Regions from separate parts of the Homo sapiens genome. Here all the other regions are linked to region 1. The links are contacts of gene promoters, found by promoter capture Hi-C in human tissues and cell types (Jung and others, 2019). All regions are on one chromosome and are shown on one strand. Each heading gives the region's core, a stretch centred on a gene start or on the middle of the fragment in contact. The rest is flanking DNA. Distances are from core to core; before and after follow the strand shown. Region 1 holds the start of TMEM213 (transmembrane protein 213). Region 2 overlaps CREB3L2 (cAMP responsive element binding protein 3 like 2). Region 3 has its middle 14 kb from the start of MIR4468. Region 4 has its middle 100 kb from the start of MIR4468. Region 5 has its middle 27 kb from the start of TRR-CCT4-1.

The links. Contacts are between HindIII fragments. The study calls those that stand out against the background at their distance.
Region 2: a contact is called between a fragment that was not itself captured here and the fragment with the promoter of TMEM213 in region 1, in 2 of the 25 tissues and cell types used here (mesendoderm cells and thymus).
Region 3: a contact is called between a fragment that was not itself captured here and the fragment with the promoter of TMEM213 in region 1, in 2 of the 25 tissues and cell types used here (hippocampus and stomach).
Region 4: a fragment that was not itself captured here is called in contact with the fragment with the promoter of TMEM213 in region 1 in 5 of the 25 tissues and cell types used here (IMR-90 fibroblasts, bladder, dorsolateral prefrontal cortex and 2 more).
Region 5: a fragment that was not itself captured here is called in contact with the fragment with the promoter of TMEM213 in region 1 in 1 of the 25 tissues and cell types used here (liver).

The regions. Positions count from the first base shown.
Region 1 is chr7:138,796,351-138,800,154 of GRCh38, forward strand. It overlaps TMEM213 (transmembrane protein 213), which reads left to right and starts at 1,644. Exons shown (of 3, transcript NM_001085429.2): 1 at 1,644-1,836. The coding sequence starts at 1,755. It overlaps ATP6V0A4 (ATPase H+ transporting V0 subunit a4), which reads right to left and starts at 1,846. Exons shown (of 22, transcript NM_020632.3): 1 at 1,684-1,846. RefSeq lists a silencer at 1,614-1,908. The HindIII fragment of the contact is 6,104 bases long and covers 1-3,804 here.
Region 2 is chr7:137,994,127-137,997,930 of GRCh38, forward strand. The region is part of intron 1 of CREB3L2 (cAMP responsive element binding protein 3 like 2); the gene reads right to left. Among named protein-coding and RNA genes, the nearest start is that of CREB3L2, 6.1 kb to the right of the region's middle. The HindIII fragment of the contact is 4,722 bases long and covers 1-3,804 here.
Region 3 is chr7:138,135,746-138,139,549 of GRCh38, forward strand. No RefSeq gene overlaps it. Among named protein-coding and RNA genes, the nearest start is that of MIR4468, 14 kb to the left of the region's middle. RefSeq lists an enhancer at 2,628-2,737. The HindIII fragment of the contact is 7,042 bases long and covers 1-3,804 here.
Region 4 is chr7:138,221,639-138,225,442 of GRCh38, forward strand. No RefSeq gene overlaps it. Among named protein-coding and RNA genes, the nearest start is that of MIR4468, 100 kb to the left of the region's middle. The HindIII fragment of the contact is 4,590 bases long and covers 1-3,804 here.
Region 5 is chr7:139,311,954-139,315,757 of GRCh38, forward strand. It overlaps a transcript of UBN2 not described here and the pseudogene RNU6-206P. Among named protein-coding and RNA genes, the nearest start is that of TRR-CCT4-1, 27 kb to the right of the region's middle. The HindIII fragment of the contact is 9,197 bases long and covers 1-3,804 here.

The DNA of each region.
Region 1 (3,804 bases), core at 394-2,893:
ATAGGCCACCACTATTTTATATCTTAGAGCCAATTAGAAAAAAGTGCCTCCCCTGGGCTGTTACACTCCACTAGGAAATCTTTCCTTGGGGCTTACTCACGCCTTCTATGTCTTTCCACAGAGCTGGAGTCCACCCCTCACCCTTACCAGGCCCATTCATGCGCAGGAACACTTCCACACATGGCAGGCTGTGTGCACACAGACGATTCCCTCGCCTTTATAGGTGCTATTCCTTTGACTTGAAAAGCCCATCAACTCTAATCTGCACATACAAACTTCAGCACCCAGCCCAAATGTCACTTTCTCTGTGAATCCTTCCCCTATACCTCTCAGGCAGAGTTCATCCCATCCTCCTTTTTATTCCCATCACAGTGGAAGGTACCCCTATTTGAGTCTTGCCAGGTTGCATCAAATTTCTTTCTTCCGGGTTTGGTTCCCTGCTGCACTGTGCTCTCAAGGGGAAGAGGCGTGTCTCAGTCATCTCAGTCTCCAGTGCCTAGGATGAGACCTTTTATATACATGTGGGTCTTCAATAAATGTTTTAGACGGAATGCAGAGCTCTAGTCAAGTTACTCCTCAGCTCAAAATCTCTACAGAACCTTCCCCTTTGCTTCCTGACTTTGTTTCAAATTCCTCTACCAGGCACGCAGAAGCTTAGCCCACAGCTCTCCTCTTGCCTCCCCACCTCACATGCCTTGGCTCACCTGCGCTTCTGGGTGCTGCTGGTACAGCCACCCTCTGACACTTCCTTACCTCTGGACCTTTGCTCATCTGTCCCTCTACCTATAATGCCATCTTCCCCTCTCCCCCTGTCAAAATTCTAGCCATCCTTCAAGGCCCAGGCCAAATGCCATTTTCTTTTTTTTTTTTTTTTTTTTTTTGGAGATGGAGTCTCCCTCTGTCGGCCAAGCTGGAATGCAGGGTCAGGAGCATCTCAGCTTACTGCAACCTCTGTCTTCCGGGTTCAAGCGATTTTCCTGCCTCAGCTTCCCAAGTGGCTGGGACTACAGGCATGCACCACCACACCTGGCTAATTTTTGTATTTTTATTAGAGATGGGGTTTCACCATTTTGGCCAGGCTGGTCTTGAACTCCTGACTTCAAGTGATCCACCTGCCTCAGCCTCCCAGAGTGCTGGGACTACAGGGTGAGCCCCCATGCCCAACCTCAAATGCCATTTTCTTCTTGAAGCATCCCATCAGCAGATGTGGCCTCCACTGTTGAAACCCACAGTGCTTTATCCTCCCAAGCCATTCCTCAAACACGGTTCTGGGGTTGAATGATGCGTGTTTGTAATTAACGCACTTCGACAGCAGGTATCTCCCAACTTCAGCATAGTGGGTGCTCAGTGAATATTGGCCCAAATGGAATTGAGCATCCATGCTACACCTGCAGATGGGAGAGGCAGCAAACTCATGTCCCAGGAACCAGCATGACACAGATCTCTCTTGTCCTCCCCTTGTTTCTCAATAAGGACAATATTTGCGCTCAGGGGAGAAGGGCACAGCTTGCCCCTCCCTTCCTTCCTCAGCCAACGGTTTGGCTTCCCTTCTAGAGAGGTGAGAGAAGGTGTGACAGGCCAAGTTTCCTTTGCTCCACCCCATGGTGTTTCCCCCAAACACCCAGCATAAGTTCACCTCTGGCAGAGTTGCTTTCCAGCTCCTGCAGGTGGGAGTCGACTCACCTGCAGCAGGCACTCGGCACAACTCCGCAGGACCGGCTCACCTGCACCGGGCACTCAGCACAGCCTCCAGCATGCAGCGCCTCCCCGCTGCCACCCGGGCCACCCTGATCCTCAGCCTGGCCTTTGCCTCCCTCCACTCGGCTTGCTCGGCAGGTAGCGTTATGAGCTTTATTCATGGCCAGGCTGGGAAGGGGGAGGGAAGGAGGGAAGAGAGGTGGGAGGGAAAGAAGGAGGAGGGGGAAGATTCTTTGGCCAGGGTTGGTCCTGCGCAAAGGAAGGAGGAAACAGAACTTTCTCATCTGAAGGATTAGGCAGGGGGTGGGAGGTGGGGCTGGGGCAGGGGGGGTCTTAGGTTGGCCTGAGACGGAGATCAGATACTCAATTCCTCAGCTAAGGCAGGAGCAGCCACCTCTCTTGGCCTTTGCCACAAAGAAAGGAAAAAGTTATTTGCTGGAGTCTCACCCATCAGGGGACCAAAATGATATCTCTTGGTCCGCTGTGTCCTGAAGGCTCCTTCTCAGCCCCACTGGGCTGTCGTGCTTTGCAATCCTCCCTGTGCACATTTGTGTCTGACCTTCCCTTTCCTAAGTCCTCCATCCCTCCCTGCCCCTTGTACTTTCTCTGCGACTTTCACAAAACCTGACTGCCAGGAGGGCTGCCATTCACTGTCTCCCACCCTCCTGCCTCCCCGGGCACTGGAAATGCTGGGTTATCTCCCCATTTTCCTGTGGAGGCTGGAAGGCTGATCTACATCCCCTGCCTTGCCCTGCCAGGCCGGGTTCTGCAACTCACGGCAGAGGGACCTTGGTTACCATCTTCTGCTCCTGGCTTTGATCTTGTTCTCAGCCACCTCAGAACACCACCACACTCTCTATGCCCTGCAACACTCCTGCTCCCAAAACCAACCCTGCCCCCAAAGTCCTGTGTCTGCCCCTCTCATCCTCAGACTCTCTTCTGTAGCCACTGCCAGGGGTGTTGGTGTTGAGGTTCAAGACGTGCACTCTTGAGCCGCTGAGCCTGAACCCAGGTCCAGCTTCCATGACTCACTAGCTATGCGACCTCGAGCAAATGACTTTACCTCTCTATGCCAAGTTTCCTCCTTTATCTCATGGGGACAATCATAGTGCTTGTCAAGACGAATTGATGTAATTTCATGTAAAGAACTTAGAAATAGCCCATAGAACACACACAGTGAATGTCAGCAATTATGGTAAGCACATTCATTTTATTTTCCAACTTCACCCCTCCCCAAATAAGAGTGCTGAGTTTCTTTCTACTTACCCCGACAGTGCCTTGCTTATGATGGGAGCTCAGAATCAGAAGACAAGTTTAACTGCACTGAATCGTTGGGTCTTCCCAGCAGCTTTTCTTGTGGAATAGCCCCAAGTAGGGCCAGTCCCTCCCTCGCTTCTGGCTCTGCTTATAAGGGAGGAGGGCGATGTTTAAATTCTTAGGAATTTTCACCGGGGCTATTCCATTTGAACCACAGAAAATTGCTGATATTGAACAATTTTCACCTATAACAATGGCAATTTCATAAGCTCGAACCTAACCCTAGCATTCAGCCAACTAGGGTTTTTTTCCACTCACTTTGGAAGAGGACAACTTCCATTCTAGGTGTAGAGGTGAAATGAAAGTCAGGGCCAAGGAAGTTATTTGAGTCATAAGGAAAATTAGAATAGTGAGGAATCAGTTTCTCCAAAACAAATAAAGACCAGGCTCTAAGCCATTTAGCTGTAAATAATTTACAGTAACAGATTGCATCGAGGCAATTACTATACTTTAAGCAGGACATTGGAGTGGCTTGGGGGTTGGGTGGCATAAAATTAGTCTCAGCAGCAACTTCATGGCTTTAGCTAAACAGCAGGTTTCTTCTGAACTCGTCCTGCTGTGACAACAAGCTCCCTTGAAGGACACACTGACCCACAGCCAGGGGAACCTTGAGAGTTTCCATGCCCACCACTTTTTTTTTTTTCCTTTTTGCATTCCCCAAGAAGCAGAACGAACAGCAATATAATTTCTAGGAAGGTTCTTCCAATCCATCTCTTGGTTTCCATCTACCTAGGTCAGCATGAGCACTGTCTAATAATAGAACTTGCACTGAGGGTGGAAATGTCCCAT
Region 2 (3,804 bases), core at 900-3,399, 800 kb before region 1:
CTCACTCATAAGATCACTCATTTGGACAATTCAGATGCCCTGCAACCATAGGCCTCAATCCTACCAAATGCCCAGCTAAGGCTTAAGGCTATTTACCCCAAGAGAGTCACCAGACAGCGTAGAGCCATGTCAGGCTGAGGCCGGCAGTTTTAGCTGCAGACAGGCACATGTGCCCTCATCAATATTTGAACAGCCATATGCAACTGGAAAAATTGCTTCTTTGAAAAATGGCATTTAGCTTGCCACCTGCTGTCGATCCCAAACAGAACAAATCATTCTTGTCCTGCATGGTAAGCATGATTACAGGCTCAGCTAGCTACCTCCAGCCCTGGTATTCTACTCTGACGCCAAGAGTCCAGATAATACAGTTAATTCTACATCTCCTAGTTAGTGAGTCAAGACATAGCCATAATCTCCTCCTGGCTCCCACCCCTCCCTAGCCTTTCCCTGCACTTTCAAGAGGCTATTTCTACATCTATAGTCTTCTTTCACTGGGCATTGGTAGCACAGCTAAATAATATTCTTAGAACTTTGCTGGGCCGGACGTGATAGCTCATGCCTGTAATCCTAGCACTGTGGGAGGCCGAGGCAGAGGATCCCTTGAGCCCAGGGGTTCAAGACCAGCCTAGGCAACATAAGGAGACCCTGTCTCTATTTAAAAACAAAAAACAAAAGAACTCTGCGAGTGGCACAGTACTTGGGTTTACTGTTTTGCGCCCAGGGCAAATTACTGTGAATTTTAAATTTTCTAGTTGCTAGCCCATGTTCATGAGAAAAGAAACATACCTTTTGACTAAGGAAAGAATTGTTAACTCAGACTATTTTACTAATGATCCCAATGGTCATGCTGGTTGAGTCTCCATCCCCATATGATTAATCTAAGCTGATAATATAAATCCCATTCTCCTTTCCAGCCATTGGCTTAAGAATGGTCATATGACCGAATCCTTACCAATAAAGCTTTAAGAAAAATCAGCTAGTGGGCTAGTAAGAAAAGTTTCTTCCATTCTAAAAAAGGGACACAAGAAAGAGACAACTTCTCTTCTTCCTCTGGATGTTGTCATTTTGAATGTAACCCCTGTAACTCCTATGTCCATCACACATCCAACCTGAGGATGAAAGCTGCACATGGGCAGAACCAAGGTCCATTGAGGAACTGCTGAATCAGCCAACAAGGAGCTCTATTTCTTTTTTTTTCTTTTCTTTCTTTTTTTTTTTTTTTTTTTGAGACAGAATCTCACTCTGTCACCAAGGCTGGAGTGCAGTGGCATGATCTTGGCTCACTGCAACCTCCACCCCCCAGGTTCAAGGGATTCTCCTGCCTCAGCCTCCCGAGTAGCTGGGATTACAGGCGCCCGCCACCACGCCCAGCTAATTTTTGTATTTTTAGTAGAGACAGGGTTTCACCATCTCGGCCAGGCTGCTCTTGAACTCCTGACCTTGTGATCCACCTGCCTTGGCCCCCCAAAGTGCTGGGATTACAGGCGTCAGCCACCGCGCCCGGCCAGGGGCTCTATTTCACAACCTCTTGCAACATGAGATAATTTACTTACTGTATGAGCCGATCTGAATCCATTTTCAGTTACTTCTAGCTGCAAGCACTGTAATTAATTCAATTATTAATCTAGATGCTATATCTTATAACTCCTGCAAAAGCAATGTCACATCAGAGACCCCTGTTTCCCATGAACACTGTAACTCAGGGATCATTCGAGAAGGAGGGCAAATATAAAACTCTGTACTGCCCTCTCATCTTTCAGGACTGTGCCTATGTCTACCACCTCCCAACCAATGTTACTATCATGAGAACAATTTCAGAGACAGTAAAATAATCCGTCAAAGATTTTTTGCTAAGCCAAGGGAAATCCTCTAGATCATAGACAAATTAGCAACACATAAACAAGGCTGCCTTATGAATAAGAGCCACATTATGAAATAATGGAGGGCAGTGAGGGTTCCTCTCCCATTCCCCAAATATTCGCCCACTACTACCTGGCTATCGCCCTAGGTTCTCCAAGTGGAGATTCACCCTTTTGACCTGAAGTAATTATTGTTAAATATAAATGCCCATTTAGGGTTAACATGTTAAATCTTACTAACACTAAAATTTCTAGTGAAAGCTTATCAAATCTTTCCTGACAGCAAAATTTGAAGGGATGAAATTGGAAAGAGAACATTACAGTGAACACTTGATGTCTAAGAAAGGAGGGGAACACAAAAGGGGCGAGAATGTTGAAAGGTGCCACAAGGGTCTGGAAAAATTATACTTACTTCCCAATTCTGTCTCCCGTTAGAACTCACTACATTTATTCAGCTTGTGGAGGTCATGTGACCATAAGTAATAACATTCTCAGCCAATGAGGACCCGGGTGCCCCTTCAGAACCTGGCCTGGGGCCAACCCTAGGAGTTAACTCCAAAGTGGAACATCAAACCAAAAGCTTCAATATCGCATTGAAATCATATCACTCTCCGGGCCAGGCGGGAGGAACAGGAAACCACACAGTCTGTGAGATCAGCCAACTCCTTTTCAGCACTCAGTAAGACATGGAAGCCAGATGGCCTTTCCATCTGGACACCAGGCAGGTCGAATATTCCCCCAACTCCCTACCTACCACTGTCTGGGACCAGTGGTTTCACTTGAAGAACCAACCAGATATAAAACTGTATTAGCATAACCACCAAATGATTTTACAAATAACTTGGCTTTATAGGAATTCTGCATTTTAAACAAGCAGAACTTCTGTTGTTACTTTCACAAAGACTTAGTTTTTATGATACACTTTTTTAAAAGGATATAATCATGGCGAAAATTGCAAAAATTGTTTTATTTTCCAGATGGCTAAACTGAGATAGAAGAAAGGAGAACATTATCAAGATCTTGATGTTTATCATGGGCAAACCACCTGCCAACCTCTCCCCCTAAAGCCTCTTTCCATGGGGCCTTCCCACTTCCCCTGTTCTTCATCCAACGCCTCCACTGACCTTGAGTGGTGTTGAGTTTCTATATAGTACTGAAGCTCCCTTTTTCCCCCAAGAACACTTGGTTGAAAATTACCTCTAGTCCAGTTTTACATGGTGCCTACAAGTTGTATTTCTTCCATTTTCTAGACATAGTGACGAGGTAAAAATCTGAATAGTACCAACAGGTATAGTGTGTAGACATGCTTCCCTTCATCTCTTGACTTCCACTTCCCCAAGCTGCTTTCCCAAAAATTATCCACTTCTTGAGCATCCTTCCAGATACAGTTTATACATATATAAAATACATTTTAAAATTTATAGATTATTTTGCTCTTTAAATTGCAAAAGGGGGCTGAGCACAGTGGCTCACACCTGTAATCCCAGCACTTTGGGAGGCCAAGGCAAGAGGGTCCCTTAAACCCAGGAGTTGGAGACCAGCCTGGGCAACATACTGAGATCCCGTTTCTACCAAAAAAAAAGAAGAAAAAAATTAGCCAGGCATGGTGGCACACACTGATACTCCCAGCTACTCTGGAGGCTGAGGTGGGAGGATCACTTGAGCCTGGAAGGTTAAGCCTGCAGTGAGCCATGATTGAGCAACTGCACTCTAGTCTGGGTGTCAGAACAAGACCCATCTCAAAAATAAAATAAAATAAAATAAAATAAAATAGAAATTACAAAAGCACAGACAATTCCCAGAAAGTAATTTTCAGAGAATTTTATAGGAATACAATACAAATGGCAGAAATGTCCAACATACAGGCAGGTCTGGGGAAAGAGGCAAGGTTTCTTCTCACGGTGGTACCGAACCCCAAGAGATATTCTCCTGATTTCTAGATTTG
Region 3 (3,804 bases), core at 689-3,188, 660 kb before region 1:
GAGTGTTCTTGTCTGGCTTTCATGTCAGGATAATATTGGCCTCACAAATCCAGTTGGAAAGTGTTTCTTCCTCTTTAATTTTTTGAGGAGTTTGAGAAGTACTAGTACTCATGCTTCCTTAAATGTTGGTAGAATTCAGCAGTGAAGCCATCAGGTCTAAGGCTTTTTTTTCTTTTTTCTTTTTCTTTTTTTTTTTTTTTTTTTTGAGATGGAGTTTCGCTCTTTCGCCCAGGCTGGAGTGCAGTGGTGCAAGCTCTGCTCACTCCAACCTCCGCCTTCCAGTTTCAAGCAATTCTCCTGCCTCAGCATCCCAAGTAGCTAGGATTACAGGTGCCCACCACCACACCCAGCTAATTTTCATGTTTTTAGTGGAGACAGGGTTTCACCATGTTGGTCCGGCTGGTCTCAAACTCCTGACCTCGTAATCGGCCCACCTCGGCCTCCCAAGTGCTGGGATTACAGGCATAAGCCACCACATTGGCTTATTAGTGATTTAATATTTAATCTCCTTACTGATCTGTCCGAATTTTCTATTTCTTCATGATTCAGTCTTGTCAGGTTGTATATTTCTAGGAATTTATCTGTTTATTCTAGGTTATCCAATTTGTTGTTATATAATTATTCATAGTAGTCTCCTATGATCCTTGTATTTCCTTCTTTTTTTTTTTTTTTTTTTTTTTTTTTGACAGAGTCTCACCCTATTGCCCAGGCTGGAATGCAGTGGCGCGATCTCAGCTCACTGCACCCTCTGCCTCTTAGGTTCAGATTATTCTTGTGCCTTAGCCTCCTGAGTAGCTGGGACAACAGGCGCACACGACTATGCCCAGATAATTTTTGTATTTTTAGCAGAGACGGGGTTTTGCCATGTTGGCCAGGCTGATCTCGAACTCCTGACCTTAAGTGATCCACCCACCTTGGCCTGGGCCACTGTGCCCAGCCAATCCTTTGTATTTCTGTGTTATCTGCTGTAATGGCTCCTCTTTGGTTTCTAATTTTATTTGAGTCATCTCTCTTTTGTTCTTAGGCTAGCTAAAGGTTTGTCAATTTTGTTTATGTCTTCAAAAAAGTTTTGTTGATCTTTTCTATTCTTTTCCTATTCTCTTTTTTTTTTCCTGCTCTGATCTGTATTATTTCGTTTCTTCTACTAACATTGGGCTTAGTTTGTTCTTCTTTTTTGAGTTCCTTAAGGAATAATGTTAGATTACTTATTTGAGATCCTTCTTCTTTTTTAATGTAGGTATTTATTGCTATAAACTTCCTTGTTGGAACTGTTTTTACTGCATTCCATACATTTTGTTATGTAGGGTTTCCATTTTTGTTTGTCTCAATATATTTTTTTTAATTTCTCCTTCAATTTCTTCTTTGACCCATTGGTTGTTCAGGAGTATGATGTTTAATTTCCATATATTTCTGAGTTTCCAGTTTTCCTTCTGTTATTTATTTCTAATTTCATACCACTGTTGTTGGAAAAGATAGTTGACATAGTTTCATTTTTTTTAATTTTTATAAAATATACAAAAATATACATAGATACATATAATAGATTTTTATAATAAATACATTAAAATATACATAAATAGAGTCTTGATACGTTGACCAGGCTGGTCTCAAATTCCTGGCTTCATGCGATCCTCCCATCTCAGCCTCCCAAAGTGCTAGAATTACAGACAGGAGCCACCACTCCTGACCACATTGTTTCAATTTTTGAAATTTGTTAAGACTTGTTTTGTGGCCTAATATATGATCTTAGAGAATGTTTTATGTGTGCTTCAGAAGAATGTGTATCCTGCTGCTGTTGGATGGAATATTCTGTATGTGTCTGTTAGGTCCATTTAGTCTAAAGTATAGTTCAAGTCCAATGTTTTCTTATTGATTTTCTGTCTGGAAAATCTATCCATTGTTGAAAGTGCAATGTTGAAGTCTCCTACTATTATTGTCTTGCTGTCTACTTCTCCCTTCAGACCTATTAATATTTTCTTTATGTATTTATGTTCTCCAATGTTGGGTACATAATAGTGTGTGTGTGTGTGTGTGTGTGTGTGTATTATATATTGTTCCATATTACCTATTGTTCTATCATCTTGATGAATTGATCTCTTTATCACGATATAATGGCACTGTATGTCTCTTTTCACAGTTTTTGACTTAAAATGTATTTGTCTGACATAAGTGTGGCTACTCCTCCTCTCTTCTGGTTTCCTTTTGTATGGGATGTCTTTTTATATCTCTTTACTTTCAGTTCACGTTTATTCTTGAAGCTGAAGTGAGTGTTTTGTAAGCAGCATAGAGTTGAGTCTTTTTTCTATCCTTTCAGCCATTCCATGTCTTTTGATCAGTGAGTTTAATTTATTTAATGTAAAATAATTACTGAAAGTAAGGACTATTTCCATTTTGTTCATTGTTGTCTGGCTGTTTGGCAGATCCTTTGTTTCTTTCTTCCTCTCTTGCTGTCTTTCTTTGTGATATGATGATTTTCTGTAATGGTATTGTCTTATTCTGTTTTGTATTGCTATGAAGGGATATCCGAGGCTGAGTAATTTTTAAAGAAAAAAGGTTTCTTTGGCTACAATTCTGATGTTTGGAAAAGTTCAAGATTGGGCATCTGGTGAGGGCTTCCATTTATGGTAGGAGGTGAAGGGGAGCTGGAATATGCAGAGATCTCATGGCAAGAGAGGAAGCCAGAGGCGGAGGTGCAAGGCTCTGTTTAACAATTACCTCTCATGGGAACTAACAGAGTGAGAACACAGTCACCCCCAATGGAGGGCATTAACTTACTCATGAGAGATCTGCCCCCACAATCCAAACATCTCACATTACGCCCCACCTCCAACATAGAAAATCAAATTTCAACATGAGTCCAAAATACCACATGTTCTCATTTATAAGTGGGAGCTAAGCTATGGGCACACAAAGGCATACAGAATGGTATAATGGGCATTAGAGACTCAGAAGGGAAGAGGGTGAGAGGGGGCTGAGGGATGAAAAACTACCTATTGGGTACAATGTACACTACTCAGGTGACAGATGCACTAAAATCCTAGACTTCACCACTATCCAATTCATCCATGTAACCAAAAAACACTAGTGCCTCTGAAGCTACTGAAATTTAAAAGTTTTTTAAAAATTCAACATGAGGTTTAAAGTAGACAAACCATATTTAAACTATAACTAGATACGCTTTCATTCATTTCTCTTTATCTTTTACGTATCTTTGATAGGTCTTTTCTTTGTGATTACCATGAGGCTTACATATAACACCTTATAGTTATAACATGCTATTTTAAGCTTATAGTAATTTAAATTTGATCCCCTCCCCAACATTCTCTATATATATTTTAATTATGACATTTGAAGAAACTTGAAAAAAATAAATATTTTATACACCACACACACACACACACACACACACACACACACACACACACAAAGTCTTACTCTGTTACCCAGGCTGGAGTGCAATGGCATGATCTTGACTCACTACAACGTCCACCTCCTGGGTTCAAGCAGTTCTCCAACCTCAGCCTCTTGAGTAGCTGGGATTACGGGTGCATGCAACCATGCCCTGGTAATTTTTGTATTTTTAGTAGAGATGGGGTTTCACCATGTTGGCCAGGCTGCTCTCGAACTCCTGGCCTCAAGTGATCTGACTGCATTGGCCTCCCAGTGTGCCGAGATTACAGGTGTGAACCACCACGTCTGGCCACATTCTGTATTTTTGATGTCACAATTTGCATATTCATCTATGCTAAGAACTGACTCAGATAAGTGATGGTTTGAGATAAGCCTAGATAGGTAAATAGGACA
Region 4 (3,804 bases), core at 795-3,294, 570 kb before region 1:
TGAGGTCTCCCCAGCCACGTGGAACTGTTATTCCATTAAACCCCTTTTCCTGTATAAATTACCCAGTCTTGGGTATGTCTTTATCAGCAGCGTGAAAATGGACTGATACAAACTGTAATGATAGGAGGCTGGGTAGGTTTCTTTTGTCCTTAGCCAGAAGAGTAGGGGAAGGGAAGAATTGTTCATAAGAAAAGAAGGTTTACATTGCCTGAAAGGCATGTGAGTTTGCCCCAGAGGAGCTGCACCACATGTAGGGGTCAGAGATCACAACCAGAAAAGACAGAAAAGAATCCTTCCCCTTTCCAGGCAGGCAACTACCCCCATTCACTGCTTGCATTCAGGCAACACTGGAGAGTAGCCCTGGCCAGAATCCTGCAGTTACCTTCCTGTTTAGTCACTGCCCATCAAGGGTCCACAGTTGAGGAGAGAGGAGAGAGGAGAGAGGAGAGAGGAGAGAGGAGAGAGAGATTCCCCTGTATGGAACAGAAAGGAAAATGAGAAAAATAAACCCCAAGCTTTGGGCTTACCTCCTGACTGGCTTGCCAAAATATGTTACCGGTTGAGGTGTCCAGGTTCTTAGCATTTTAAACAAAAAATTAGACAAAATGCACAAATGAAGCAAGAAAAGAATGAAGCAATAAAAGCAGAGATTTATTGAAACAAAAGCACACTCCACAGAGCGGGAGCGGCCCCAGCAAGTGGCTAGCCCAGTTACAGAATTCTCTGGGGTTTAAATACCCTCTGGAGGTTTCCCATTGATTACTTGGTGTAAGCCCTTTGTAAATGAAAAGGCTGAAGTGAAGTTACAAAGTTATTTACTTGGAGTACACACTATGAAAATAAAGAAGATGAAGTGAGGTTACAAAGTTATTTACTTGGTGTACACCTTATGCAAATTAAGAGGATGTTTCCTGTCATAGCTGAAGTAGAGATACAAAGTTATTTACTTGGTCTAAGAAAGTTGGAGTTTTTCTGTTTGATTTAGTTCTAAGAAGGCCTTAGGTTTCCTGCTCCCAGACCTTATTCTCCTGCCTCAAAACTGTCATTAAAATGTTTTGTCTCTGAAAGTAAGATGCATATAACTACCTTCTAACAAATTAATTCCTAATGATTTCTTAATTATTCTAGTGAGTTCTTAGTGTAATTAAATATTTGTGCTTCCTATTTATTTAATCATTCAATTTGTAGAATTTGTATAGAATGACTTCATTCTTGCTATAATTTTTATTAAGAAATAAATATAGTCAGGCATGATGGCTCATGTTTGTAATCCTAGCATTTTGGGAAGCCAAGGAAGGAGAATCTCTTGAGCCCAGGATTTGAGACCAGCCTAGGTAACACAGGGAGACCTTGTCTCTATTTTAAAGAGAATAAATAAAGAAAGAAAAATTATAATACCTTCTAAAAATTGTGCTTAAGGAAAAGAAAACTAATTATACTCAAGGAAGGGATACCTTTTTCCTAAATCTCACAAAAGCTGGCTACAGGTGCTAAGGCATAGCTCTCAAAATGTTAAAAACATAATTCTAATACAACTAGTGAGTTCATGTCAAATATTTATTAAACTCATTAATAAGGAACCCAGAAGGATGAAAAGCCCAGTTCAAAAGAGAATTTAAGAAACTAGATTTTTATGATAAGTGGAGAGGGGGCAGTAATGCTGAAATAAAGTTGTTAAATTAGATAAAGTTATATGATGATTAAAACCCTAAGGGGGCCAGGTGCCATTCACTCCTATAATCCCAGCACTTTGGGAGGCTGAGGTGGGAGGATTGAGAGAAGAGAGAGGAAGGAACTAGTTAGGCAGATAGTTCAGACAGACACCCAGTAGAAGCCCTTCCAACAAAGGATCAGCCTGGAAGAAATCAAGCTGCAAGCACAGATAAGGAAGCAAGGCTCAACACATTTATCTTTTGAGCAACAAATGAGCTCCAGGTATACAGAGTGGGCTTCAGTGAGCGCATTCCTTTCCTTTTTGGGCATATTCAGATAAGGGGACTGGCATCAGGGGGCTTGCCTAAGACAGGCCTGCAGCTGTATAGATTAAATTTACACTGAATCAGGCAGGTCCACAATGGAAAATTCCATCTCCTGACACGTGTGCAGTAAGGGAAATGACACAATATGGAGTAACTCATGTTAAGAACTCACATGCTCACTAGAGGGATGGGGTGGAGCTGTCAGAAATTTGCATCTTATGCAAATAAGGAACTGGTTTTTTGCACCATATGCAAATGAAACACCCCACCCCACTGGCTTGTTTATAAAAGACTTTGTATTCAACTGTGAAATAGCAACGCTCTCAGGCCCCATCTCCACAGAGGAAAGCTTTCTTCTTTCACTTATTAAACTTTTGCTCCAACCTCACTTTTGGTGTCCACACTCCTTAATTCTCTTGGTCATGAGACAAAGAGCTCAGATAACACCCCAGACAACAAGACTGCTCCAGAGACCCTAGACGGCTTCAGGATCACTTGAGGCCAGGAGTTCAAGAGCAGCCTGGGCAGCATAGTGACCTCATCTCTACAAAAATTTAAAGAATTAGCTCGGCATAGTGGTACGCACCTGAGGTGGGAGGATTGCTTGAGCCCTGGAGTTTGAGGCTGCAGTGAGATATGATACCACCACTGCACTCCAGCCTGAGTAACAGAGACCCTGTCTCTAAAATTTTAAAAAATAATAATCTTACAGGAATAATACGATCATAACCTTCTTGTTTGAGGTCAGGAGTTTGAAACCAGCCTGGACAACATAATGAGACCTTGTCTCTAGAAAAAAATAAAAAAATAAGGCAGGAGGATGGCTTGAGCTCAGGAGGTCACGCCACTGCACTCCCACCTGGGTAACAGAGCCAGACCCTGCCTCGAAAAAAATTATTTTAAAAAATCATAACCTTCTGCTTTACCTTTCCTACTCAACAAAAAAGAAAGTTGTTGTACCAGATCAACTTTACAGAATTGCAAAGTCTCTGGGTTCTAATGAATTATGCCAACAAGCTTAAATTTCCTGAGTCAGATGGTCCTTGGGTGGGCTTGCTAGAAATGTTCTTAGCATGACATTAATCACCTTTCGCCTTAGGTCCAAGTTTTCGATAATGTTCCTTAACATGGGCTAGTGGTAGCCCCGCATATTCACAGCAAAGCAGGACTCAGTACTTGATTGTATAAAAAACAAAATGATATAAAACCAGTATGAACTCATAAGGCATAGTGGAGTGAAGAAGATTTTACTAAAGACTTTACAGTGAGATTGAAGAGAGAGTTACACTGTATCTCTCACAGCAAAACTTACATCCTTCGTTTATCATGATTGTTGTCTTAGCTACATTGCTTCCCCCTTGGCCCTCCCCAATTCTTTCTCTACCTATTCTATTTTTTTTCCTAGTGCAAAGAAATATACCTTCTTCAAACTTGCATCCTCACACCTGGTAGCCCCCAACTCAAGCAATAAATGGGCATTTTACAAATGAAGATCCAAAATGAGTGATCAATTCCAAATCAATTCTTTTTGTTCTTCTTAATGTCACCACTGGTCAGAAGTAAGCCATTTTGCCTCAAGAAGAAAACAAACAAACAAACAAAAAAACACCATATGGATAAGATAATCCAGGCTTGTTAATTTCCAATCATTATTTTAGGACCACTGATACTGTTCCATGTTTTCATATCTGTTATAGCATTTACTATAAGGTAGGCAGCTATTACTATCACTATGTAACAAATTAAGTAGCTGAGCTCAAAGAGGCTGCCGTCTTGCCAGTCATAATAAAAAGCAAGGCTCAGGTCGAGACCCAGGGCTTCAGAT
Region 5 (3,804 bases), core at 616-3,115, 520 kb after region 1:
GGAGTCCGTGACAGCCTCAGTCTCTCTTTCTATAGTCAAATGCCTGCTGTAGTTTCAAACTACATGCGAGTATGTGCTGTGGATAATTTCTTACTTTGTACTCAAATGCAAAGTAATGCGTCAATCATATGCCTTGATTCATAGCACATTGTCATCAGTCAGCTGGAGAACTCATTCCCTCACTTCATTATCCATGAAGTTTCTCCTCTTCCTTAGTCCCCACTCTGCTCTGTCCCACAGGCACCACTCTAACTTTTTTGATATGTGCCCCTTGTTTCGCAGGCATTCTTCGAAGTAAGTAGTGTTGTGTCGTGTGTATACAATTTTAATTCATACCAATAGTACTGTGGTAGCCATGTTTACTGTTTTCTACTTACTTAGATACATCCACGTTGCTATGCGTACATTTAGGGTGTTGCTTCTTACTGCTACACGGATTCCCTAGTGTGCACGCACCACATTATACATACCTGTTCCCCTCACAGTGGGTAACTAGGTTATCTTCAATTCCTTATTACCAAAAACAAGGTGATAGTTAGTCTTCCCTTCTGTCAACTGCGTGTTGATCTTTGCTCATCGTGCAATTGCATTTTGGTTTCTTGTTGTGGACATTAATCTCTTACCAGTTTTAGATGTGTCAGTTACTTTTGTCTGTTACCTGTCTTTTAACTTTGTCTGTGACATCCTTTATTGAACGAAATCCTTTTTAATTAATCTACTTTTTGTCTTATGTTTGTGTTTTGGGCAGTTTACTTATGAAATATTTCCCTAGCCCTACACCACAAAGATATCCTCCAGCATTTTCTCCTATGAGCTTTATAGTTTTGCCTTCACCTTTTCATTTACAATCCATCTGGCATCCACCTTTGTATACTGTGTAATGTAGGGATCCAGCTTTATTTTTCTGTATTTAGTGAAGCAGTTTTCCCAATACCACCTAACAGATCAATATTTCTCCCATTAATTTGTGGTACCATTTTTATCATATATCCAGTTCTCATATATGGAAAGATCTATTTTTGGGCTCTGTTCCATTGTTCTTTTTATTTCCACACCAGTATCTTACTGTTTTCTATTACCATAGACTTAAAAATATGCCTTAGTATCTAGTAAAGAGAGTCCCCGTCTTTGTTACTCTATGTTGGCCCAGCTAATTATGGATTTTTATTCTTCCATAGAAATTTTAGAATAAAATTTTCCACTTCCATTTAAAATCCAGTTGAAATATTGATTAGGATTGAATTTGCATTAAATTCACATTCTTTGGGGCCTATATAGTGGTTTAAGAAGAATAATAGAATCTTTAAGTTACAGATTTTTTTTGTGTCTTCCAATAAAGCTTTTAAAACTTCTCTATGAAGGTCTTGTTTATATATTAATTTCGAGGTATTTTATAGCTGTTGCTTCCATGAATTGTATCTTATTCTTTGTTTTCTGATTTATTGTTGGTACTAAGGAATGCTATTGATCCTTTAAAGTTGATTTTATATCGAGCAATTTTGCTAAACTGTTATTCTAATAATTCATCTGATTATTTTACTAGCTTTTCAATGGAAGTGATCATATAATGTACAAATAATGACAGTTTTATCTCCTCTTTCAATTTCACATTTTACGTCTTAGAGCATTAGACTGGTCCTTTAATACTATGCTAAACAGTAATGGGGAACGTGGCATCTTTGTTCCATATTTTAATGGGAACATTAAAATCTTTGTTCCTTATTGATCTAAGTCTTCTCCATTAAGGATGGTGTTATTCTAGATTTTTGGTATATAGTTTTTATGAACTTAAGAAAGTTCTATTCCTAATTTTCTGGGAAGGTTGATTATATGCATGCGCTGAATTAGATCAAGTGCTTTTCCCATAATACCTATATATGATCAACAATGACAGAATTTTTTTTTTTTTTTTGAGACAGAGTTTTGCTCTTGTTGCCCAGGCTGGAGTGCAGTGGCGCAATCTCAGCTCATTGCAACCTCCGCCTCCTGGGTTCAAGTGATTCTCTTGCCTCAGCCTCCCAAGTAGCTGGGATTACAGGCGTGTGCCACCATGCCTGGCTAATTTTGTATTTTTAGTAGAGATGGGGTTTCACCATGTTGGTCAGGCTGGCCTTGAACTCCTGACTTCAGGTGATCCGCCTGCCTCAGCCTCCCAAAGTGCTGGGATTACAGGCGTGAGTCACCGCACCTGGCCCAGAAACTCTTTTAGAAGTTTATTTGTGGCTGGGTGCAGTGGTTCACGCCTGTAATCCCAGCACTTTGGGAGGCCAAGGCAGGCGGATCACAAGGTCAGGAGTTCAAGACTAGCCTGGCCAATATGGTGAAACCCCATCTCTACTAAAAATACAAAAATTAGCTGGGTGTGGATATGGGCTCCTGTAGTCCCAGCCACTGGGGAGTCTGAGGCAGGAGAATCGCTTGAACCCGGGAGGCAGAGAGAGGTTGCAGTGAGCTGCTATCGTGCCACTGTACTCCAGCCTGGGCGACAAAGAGAAACTCCATCTCAAAAAAAGAAGTGTATTTGTAGGATTACTTATTTATTTATTTTTTTAGACGGAGTCTTGCTGTGTCGCCCAGGCTGGACTGCTATGGTCTGATCTCGGCTCACTGCAACCTCTGTCTCCCCGGTTCAAGCTAGTGTCCTGCCTCAGCCTCCCAAGTAGCTGGAATTATAGGAATGCACCACCACACCCAGCTAATTTTTGTATTTTTAGTAGAGACAGGGTCTCACCATGTTGGCCAGGATGGTCATGAACTCCTGACTTCAGGGGATCTGCCCACCTGACCTCCCAAAGTGCTGGGATTACAGGCGTGAGCCACGGTGCCCGGCCAATTTTTAATTGATTGTAACCTCCAGTGTGTTTGCTTCTGTTTTCATGCTGTGCCTTGTTTCGATGCATCATCTGACTCTTAATCAGTCTTGCCATTCTTCCTTCTCAATAACTTTTCAAAGAACCGTGAATGTTTTTGGATGCATATATGTTCATTATGGTTATATCTTTTTGATATAATAATAATAATAATATTATTATTATTATTTGAGATGGAATCTCGCTCTGTCGCCCATGCTGGAGTGCAGTGGCACAATCTCGGCTCACTGCAAGCTCCGCCTCCCGGGTTCACGCCAATCTCCTGCCTCAGCCTCCTGAGTACCTGGGAGTACAGTTGCCCACCACCACGCCCGGCTAATTTTTTGTATTTTTAGTAGAGACGGGGTTTCACTGTGTTAGCCAGGATGGTCTCGATCTCCTGACCTCGTGATCCACCCGCCTCTGCCTCCCAAAGTGCTGGGATTACAGGCGTGAGCCACCGCGCCCGGGAGATATAATATTTTTTAAAAAATATAGAACGCTGCACAATTTTGTGTATCATCTTTGCGCAGGGGTGGTGCTAATCTCTGTATCATTCCAGTTTTAGTATATGTGCCGCTGAAGCAAGCACTGATATAATGTTCTTTTACCAATATGATGTCCCTCATTTTTCTTTGTGACATTTTCCCTGTCTAGTATTAAATTTAATATCCAGATATCTATACCCCAAATAATATCTCATTGTATGGATATGTCACAGTTTACCCATTCATCGGGTGATAGACACTTGGACTGTTTCCACTTTTTAGCAATTATGAATAATGCTCCTATTAACACTTGTGCACAAGTTTTTGTGTGGATGTATGTTTTCAGTCCTCTTAGGTACAGACCTGGGAGTGGAATTGCTGGATTTTATGCTAACTACATTTCATTTGAGGAACTACCAAACTCTTTTCCATAGTAGCTGAACCATTTTACATACCCACCAGCAATG